Regions from separate parts of the Homo sapiens genome. Here region 1 is linked to region 2. Evidence: promoter capture Hi-C in 16 types of primary human blood cells and fetal thymus (Javierre and others, 2016). All regions are on one chromosome and are shown on one strand. The core of a region is centred on a gene start or on the middle of the fragment in contact, and the rest is flanking DNA. Distances in the headings are between cores, read along the strand shown. Region 1 has its middle 25 kb from the start of MIR4730. Region 2 holds the start of RPTOR (regulatory associated protein of MTOR complex 1).

The links. The method cuts DNA at HindIII sites, captures the fragments that hold promoters and counts their contacts. A CHiCAGO score of 5 or more calls a contact.
Region 1: a contact is called between a fragment that was not itself captured here and the fragment with the promoter of RPTOR in region 2, in 1 of 17 cell types (endothelial precursors). The highest score is 5.0, in endothelial precursors.

Annotation. Positions count from the first base shown.
Region 1 is chr17:80,442,113-80,446,096 of GRCh38, forward strand. No RefSeq gene overlaps it. Among named protein-coding and RNA genes, the nearest start is that of MIR4730, 25 kb to the left of the region's middle. RefSeq lists enhancers at 1-26, 3,519-3,984. The HindIII fragment of the contact is 5,416 bases long and covers 1-3,984 here.
Region 2 is chr17:80,543,456-80,547,838 of GRCh38, forward strand. RPTOR (regulatory associated protein of MTOR complex 1) reads left to right here and starts at 1,383. Exons shown (of 34, transcript NM_020761.3): 1 at 1,383-2,336. The coding sequence starts at 2,175. RefSeq lists enhancers at 1,077-1,903, 1,237-1,596, 1,877-1,976, 1,904-2,730. The HindIII fragment of the contact is 2,750 bases long and covers 1,070-3,819 here.

The sequences.
Region 1 (3,984 bases), core at 1,394-3,893, 100 kb before region 2:
GGTGCCAGCAGAGAACAGCGTGATTAAGCCTCCATTATTAACTTGCCAATCTTGTTTCTGGGGCACAGACGCTAACGGCTTAGGGGACCCAGTTGGCATATAATGAGGTCTCCATGACAAATTACTTGGTTATCAATTAACTATCTGGGGAAATGTCAAGCAGGATCCATCATGCTGGCAGGAAGAGAGAGCCAATTAACCCAGGGCAGTTCATCCAACCCACCGTCGCTGCGTCCAGCAGGGCCAGGAATGAGAGAAAGGGCCTGTGGAGCCCAGAGCAGGGCAGTTCCTCCACCCCCCCAGGGACGGTGTGACACCGGCTGCGGCTACACTGGTGGCAGCTTCTGCAGTCATGCCTCGCGTGCTCGGCGCACCACTCTTGCCTGTACCTGTCTCTGTCCATTCATTCATTCATTCCACAGTCACCTGCATGTCAGACCTGGACCAGGCACGGATGGGAGAGGTGACTGAGGGCTGAGGTTAGGGAGGGACACACGTGCAGACTGCAGACAGGTGTCCCTGTCTTGTGTGGTCTCTGCAGTCAGCAAGATGGGTAACAGCATCCTCAGGACAGGGAGGAAAGAAGAGTTCATTCTAAAGGTGGTGGGGGGACAGAGAGAGCATCATAGCTGGGAGGAGAGAAGAGTTCATTTTAAGGGGGTGGGCGGGGGACAGCATCACAGAGCTGGGAGAAGAGTTCATTCTAAGGGGGTAACGGGGGGACAAAGCATCACAGAGCTGGGAGGAGGAGAGAAGAGTTTGTTCTAAAAGTGGGGGGCACAGAACATCATAGAGCTGGGAGGAGAGAAGAATTCATTTTAAGGCGGTAAGGAGGGGACAGCATCACAGAGCTGGGAGAAGAGTTCATTTTAAGAGAGGGTGACAGAGTGTCTCAGAGCCAGGAGGAGGAGAGAAGAGTTCATTCTAAGGTGGGGGACAGAGCATCACAGAGCTGGGAGAAGAGTTCATTCTAAGGGGCGGGGGACAGAGAGACACAGAGAGACTCTGTGACAGCATCACAGAGCTGGGAGGAGGAGAGAAGAGTTCATTCTAAGTGGGGGTTGGGGGGTGGGGGCAGGACAGAGTGCATCACGGAGCTGGGAGGTGGAGGAGGAGAAGCCAGGTCCCTGAGACAAGGGGCAGGGTGGGTGGCCACCAGGCAGAGGGTGCCCAGGCACAGCAGGGGACGGGGCTGCTCCAGGCTTGGGCAAGGGACCATTGACTGTGCACTGTCCGGACCTGAGCAGAATCTGGCTCTGCCGTCGCTGTGCTGGGAGACCTTGAAACAGTTTAGTAAAACCTCGCCGGGCCTCTGTTTTCTTATCTATAAAATGGGGATAATAACCCCCAGTTCTGGGAGTGTTGTGGGAACTAACACTGTGGCCCCCACTTGGTGCTGGCTGAACCTGGTTCCTCCTTCTCCTCCCTACAAGAGAGGCCTTGGACCCACCTCACTGGTGAAGGCTCCCAGGGTGCACATGCCGGAGCAGAGGCGCAGGGAGGAGGGAGGCATCCTGGAGGAGGTGGCTTGGGCTGTCCTGGAGGAGGGAGGTGGCTTGGGCTGACGGCCGGCACACGGACGGGCCCGAGGCCGAGTGGCAGGGTCGGGGACTTTGGTCACTTATCAAAGTCAAAGCCCAGGACTTTTTGGGTTTTGCTTTGTTTTCAGCAAAGGCCCTTGGGTCACCTGCGATGTGTCCCACCCTTGTGAGAACCAGTGACGAAGCCCTGGCCCTACCCTGTCCCCTGGCCTTTGCCTGTGCCCCCACCCCGCCCCTCTGGTAGCCCCCTCCCCTTGCCTACTTGGGGGTGATTGGCAGCTGCCTCTTCCCAGCCCCCCAGGCCATGGCACGGAGCCTCAAGCCTATTCATGATGCGGACATATGGCACCTCCACGGGGGGCTTGGAGGAAACTGCCAATTGCGAGAGTGCAGCGTGTCCCCATTCCAGCCCTGCCGGAGCAAAACAAACGCAAGTCGCGAGGGGAGCAGAGGCGGCCCGGGGGCGTGCGCATGTGTGCGGGTGTGCCTGTGTGTCTGCAGCTCACACCGCGGGGGTGCCGGGAGGAGGGGGGCTGCCCGATCCTTGGGAGTCTGCGGCTTTCAGACGCTCCTGGGGGCTCGGCTACTGGGGTCCTAAGGAGGCGAGCTGGCCCCCTCATTCCGCCCCGCAGGCCGTGCCTCTCCTGTCTTGAGGCCGCTTTTGCCTCCCCACACCTCTTACCCAGGACGCTGGGCTGGAGGCTGTGAACAGCCCTGGGAGCAGATCCCAGAGATGCTCTCATTCTTTCCGGAATCAGGACGTTCCCCCCAGTGTCAAGCCCAAGTCCCCAGGGCTCCAGGCTTAGCCAAACTCTTCTGTTTTATTGGAGGTGGCACCACCCCCATATCAGTGGGGGCACTGCAGCCACCAGTGCATGGCCCCCTAGGCCCCTGCCCCATGCTGGGCTCACCCTCCTGTGCCCAGCTGGGGACCCAGGCATGACAAAGCCCTGCTCCTGCGGCAGGGGAGGGCGTGGGGGGGTGGGGGGGCGTGGGGAGGGAGTGGGGAGGGCTGCAGGGGAGGGCGTGGGGAGGGCGTGGGGAGAGGCTGGCCAAAGGCCAGGCTCTGGGGGTCTCAGCACACTCCTCTCCCGACCCAGGGCTGGAGGCTGCTGCCATGGAAACCAGGCCTGTCCACCCACTGGCCATGTGCATCCAGGGGCCATGGCCACCACCTCCTAGCACCCAGCTCTGCCCCCCACCCCCATTCGGGGGAGTGAGAAGTCAGGAGAGAGAGGAAGGGCGCTAAGCAGAACCTGGAGGGTGGGCCTGGGGTACCAGAGGCTGAGGTGCTCAGGCAGGCTAAGGGTAAGGGGCCTGTCCCCTGAGCCCCAGCTGAGGGTCTAACCCTCTGTGCTGCTGGGAAGCTCCAGACCCTCTGCCACAAACCTTGGCATGCACTTCGGGCAGTGGCAGCCCCTGTGGGGTGTGTCCGTGGCACCCATCAGCCTCCTCCTTGTGGCTGGGGCCTAGGAGCAGAATCTGCACGCTTTGGGCCTTCCCCAGGGAGTCAGGGAGGCGAGGGTGCAGCCCGCTAGAGAGTGGCCCATCCATCAGTTCCCTCCCAGGAGCGCTGGCTGGGGATGCTGGTGGGGAGGGGCTGCAGGGGCGGCTCTGACTCCAGCTCTGCCGACACCCTGTCCCCAGCACTGGCAGGCACCTGGGTGTCCTAATCTGTCTATAGCCTGGCCTTGGACGAGGGGCCTCTGCCCCAGCTGGGTGGGTGTTTCAGGGCCCAGGCCCCCACCTTGGCTGGCAGCGTGCACACCCGCCACAGGCACTGGGCCGACCAAGTTGCAGGCACCACTGTGCATCCAAGCATCTGCTGCCGCCGTCTCGGGGCAGATGGGCTGCCAGTGAGCTAAGTGTGTGCGGGGGAAGGGGTGCCATAGGAACCCCTCCCCGCCGGGAGCGCGGGGGCGGGAGAGGCAGGCACCCGCCGGTGGGGGAGCCGGGAGCCATCAGAGGGAGGGGGGCTGGGATCACATGGGCTCCAGGGTTGGGGAGAGGCCCATGCAGCCCGTTCCTGGGCCAGGGGCTCAGGGGATCTGGGCTCAGCCTCGGAGGATGCAGAGCCTTAGAGGTCCTGATCAGGGCTGGGAGACCTGTCACCCCTGGCCAGGTGGCCCTGGGCAAGTCCCTTCCTTCTGCAGGCCTCGGGCCCCAGGAGTGTGTGTGGATGGTCTAGAGGGTGCCTTCCCGCTCCGGAGCCCTGTGCCTTGGCAGGATGAAGGCGTCCTCCGCACACAGATGCCTGCCATCTGCAGGGGCCTCCTGCCAGGGGACACCAGCACACCCTGCCAGACTGATCCGGGGCACGTGGGCTACACCTCCGCCCCTTGCTCCAAGGCTGTGGCTCCCAGAAAGGCTGGGGCCATGCTGTGTGTTAAGTGAGGCCACTTCGGAGTTTGCCAGCTTTCCCCAGTCCCTGCCTGGCCACAGC
Region 2 (4,383 bases), core at 133-2,632:
CGTGCACCACCACGCCTGGCCTCGTTTTATTCTTATTTATTTATTTATTTATTTATTTATTTTTGAGATGGAATCTCACTCTGTCACCCAGGCTGGAATGCAGTGGTGTAATCTCGGCTCACTGCAACCTCTGCCTCCCAGGTTCCAGCTCTTCTCCTGCCTCAGCCTCCCGAGCAGCTGAGACTACAGACGCACGCCACCACGCCCAGCTAATTTTTGTATTTTTATTAGAGACGGCGTTTCACCATGTTGGCCAGGCTGGTCTCGAACTCCTGAACTCGTGATCCACCCTCCTCGGCTTCCCAAAGGGCTAGGATTATAGGCGTGAGCCACGGTGCCCTGCCTACATTTGGTTTTATAGTCCACCTTACACAGTTCTCTATACATTGTAAATGAGCCAAATTTCCTGAATTGAAAAAGAGAGTCACACAAGAGGCTTGCCTCCACGCACAGACATGTAGTTTTAGATGTCTGCACGTGAAGCTATATCAAAATAAGAATAAACTACTGCTACCAAGAAGTGGGAAAAAAATTTAAAAAGGATAAACTGCTCAGAAAACGAAACAGATTAAACAAAAAATTGTATTAGATGAAATTTTTTTTCATCGAATCTTGCTCCAGACTCTTCTTCTGTTGCTTCAGACCCTTCTTCATCTGAAGAGTCTTGCTCTGTCTCCCAGGCTGGAGTGCAGTGGCACGATCTTGGCCCACTGCAACCTCCGCCTCCCGGGTTCAAGCAATTCTCCTGCCTCAGCCTCCTGAGTAGCTGGGATTACAGGCGCGCACCACCACGCCCAGCTAATTTGTGTATTTTTAGTAGGGACGGGGTTTCACCATGTTGGCCAGGCTGGTCTCGATCTCTTGACCTCGTGATCTGCCCGCTTCGGCCTCCCAAAGTGCTGGGATTACAGGCGTGAGCCACGGCGCCCGGCCTTTCACTTGGTTCTCTATGAAAAAATTAAAGAGAAAATCTGATTGACACTGTGGAGGACACTACACTCCAAAAAAAAAAGTACTATATTTTCTAATATTATCAGTGCTTTTTAATATTTTCTAATATTATCAGTGAAGCTTTTGCCGCTTTTTCAAAATCTGGAAGAAACAAGGCGGTTGATTCCTTTAATTTCAGGAGCATGTAACTTCATTTATAATGACAATGTTTTTGAAAAAATAAATTAAACCGACAGTTTCATTTGTAGGATTGACTTTAATAACACGCCTCTACTGAACAAATGGCGATTAACTGGGGAAAACGGAATTATGGTAACCGAGGTAACGGGGTCGGGGACTCTTTCTCCTTCGCTGCATGCTGGGTGGCGGGGAGAGACCGCTCTGAGGAGGTTTGGTCTGTCGGCCACGCCGTAGGCCGCGGTGCATTCTGGGTCCTGGCAATATGGCGTCCTCCTTGATGGGCTGATGAGATGAGTTTCACTGTAGCTCCAAACCAGAGGGCAAAGCTCCCATGACCCAATAAGCCCACATTGTCCCTTTCCTCCGTGGTTCCGTGTCGCCCGTTTCTCAGGACTCGTTCTCAGGCAGGAGAGAGCCTCGGGGCTGAAGGCCAGGACCAGCCAGGCCGCGCGGACCTGAGGTTGAGGAACCGGGTGCAGGCGAGCACGATGGGCCGGTCGTGGCTCTGGTTGCAGCAGCTCAGACGAGTGCGGGACCCGCAGGGCTGAGAGTGGCTGGAGGAGACCCAGGGCCCTTTGAACCCGATCCCTTGGCCGGAGACCTCAGCCCAGTCGGCCCAGTGGGCGAACCGGCACCAAGAGCGGCCTGCCTGTCTTCGGAACTGCTGAGGCGGTGGAGGCCGAGAGCAGGGTCATCGTGAGGCCTGAAGTCTCTTACGCTTTTGGCAGCTCCCCTCGCAGCCCCTCTGGAAACGTACAGCCTCAGGAGCAGCCAGTGGCTTGGGACCTGGGGTGGTGTGTGTCTGCGGAGCTTCTTGGGCTGCCCCATTTCCTAGCGGCCCCCACCTCCCCACTTCCCGCTCAGAGTTAGAGATAAGGATCTCAGACTTTTGCCTGAGTAAGGGTCTCCGCACTCTTTATCCATTTGGTTTTCGATTTCCCGTTTTTGTTTCTTATTTCACCAATTCTGGTACACGCTAGTTTTTAAGGCTGGAGGTTCTCGAGCGCTTGCTGCCAAGGACTCCCCCACCCCCTCCCCCACTGATGGAGTCCGAAATGCTGCAATCGCCTCTTCTGGGCCTGGGGGAGGAAGATGAGGCTGATCTTACAGACTGGAACCTACCTTTGGCTTTTATGAAAAAGAGGCACTGTGAGAAAATTGAAGGCTCCAAATCCTTAGCTCAGAGCTGGAGGATGAAGGATCGGGTAAGTGGATTCTGAAGGCACCCCTTGAACTTGGTAGTTTCCCCAACAAAGAAAGTTTACAGCCCGAAAAGTGTCCTTGGGAAAGCGCCGACATTTCCCCCTAGCCACACGTTGTAAGTCAACTAGAAAGCAAAAGCCATTTCAGACTGCAGTTTTTGGTTGAAAATGGAAAATGCTGTTTTGGTTAGTCATTATTCACTGGGTAGTGTTAATTCAATTCCAACTAAGTTCTAATTCAGATAATAAAAGTTAAGCAAATTTGAAAATAGAGCATTGCGAGTATTTACATGCTCTTTGGCATACTACTTAGTTCTGTAAACACTTAGAGGAAGGACAACGTGCGATATAATCTTTATACCCACATGATTAGTCTACTTTTTAAAATATCCAAGCTGGGTGAAGTGCAGAAGTCTGATATACTATGCTAGGAAATGAGATTACTGGAAAATGTTCAACTAGTAACAAATTAGTGCAAAGTTATTATAAAGTTACACTGAACTTCATTCTAGTCTTCTAAACAATTTCTCTTGAAGCTAGATTTTCCTCCTTTTATGTAGTGTCCTGTTGCTGTAACTTGGAAACAGGATTTCTTTAATCGTGAGTTAGGGTATGAGGCGTCGAGACTTGGGTGCAGGTTTTAGGGTGTCCGCATGGTGTTTGGAGTGTGGAGAGTGACTCACAAGCAGCTGGTAGGAAAGAAAACAGCCGAATTTTGTTGGATTTGTCCTTCATAAAACACCCATCTATTTCCTGGCCTCAAAAGCAAAAGGGTAGTACTGCTTCTCCTCTATGCACACTTATAATTTGTCTTTTTGTAAGTTATTTTCTCCCTCCAGGCTGCTTTTATTTGCACATTTCAGTGGTATAAAAGAGGAAGTTGGTGTTACAATGTTTGATTTTCTCTAGGCTTATGTATATGTTTATGGAATATTATTGTTTTTTAGTATATGATGTTGAACATATATAAGATTACACTTCTGGGCTGGGCGCGGTGGCTCACGCCTGTAATCTCAGCACTTTGGGAGGCCAAGGCAGGCCTCCCAAAGGCAGGCGGATCACCTGAGGTCAGGAGTTTGAGACCAGCCCGGCCAACATGGTGAAACCCTGTCTGTACTAAAAATACAAAAATTAGCTGGGCTTGGTGGCAGGTGCCCGTAATCCCAGCTACTCGAGAAGCTGAGGCTGGAGAATCGCTTGAACCTGGGAGGCAGAGGTTGCAGTGAGCCGAAATCGCACCATTGCACTCCAGCCTAGGGGACAGAGTGAGACTGTGTCTCAAAAATAAATAAATAAATAAAACTTCTGGTAACTCTAGTCAGTCAGTCAGTAGTAACCAGTTAGCTACTGACTTGGCTTACTTCTAAAAGGTTAGGAAAATTTGTTTCATCCAAAAGCATTTTAAGGAGTTAAATAAGTTAGTCATTGGGGGAGGTTGTATAAATTCTATCTTATGGACATCTTTAGTAGTAACTATATAGTTAAAAGCTTTTGTGGTTGCTATACATATATGAAAAGACTTTTTAAAAAATTCTTTGTGGAGGGCAGTTTTTTTGTTGTTGTTATTTTGAAATGTGGTTCTCTCTGCTGTCCTAAACCTATGTTCCAACAGTTTGAAACTGATTAATGGGTATACGTTTGACCTTTTAATTAAAACATTAATTTGTGAATGATCAACATTCCCTAATAAGCTTTTCACAGGTTGTTAAGAGAAACAAAAGTTCTGTGACTCTTAGTGACTACTGAGATTGCTGCTTAGAAAGGAGCTGGGGAGAAAGTTTGCTGTATCTGTTTTTCGGTGGAGAAAATCAGCAGCTAACATCTTCAGTTGAGTGTGTGGGAGTTTGGAATCTTGTCATCTCTTCCCTCTTCCAAAGGTCAGGTCCTTTGGAATCTTGTCATCTCTTCCCTCAAGGACCGTATCACACATGCTATAGGACAGAAGTTGCAAACTCAAATGATATTGAGTGGGGATGGTAGCATAAGAGAATGAAACAGGCCACATTTAAGAAGAATAATGGCATAGGTTCAAAGATAAAGACAAATGGCA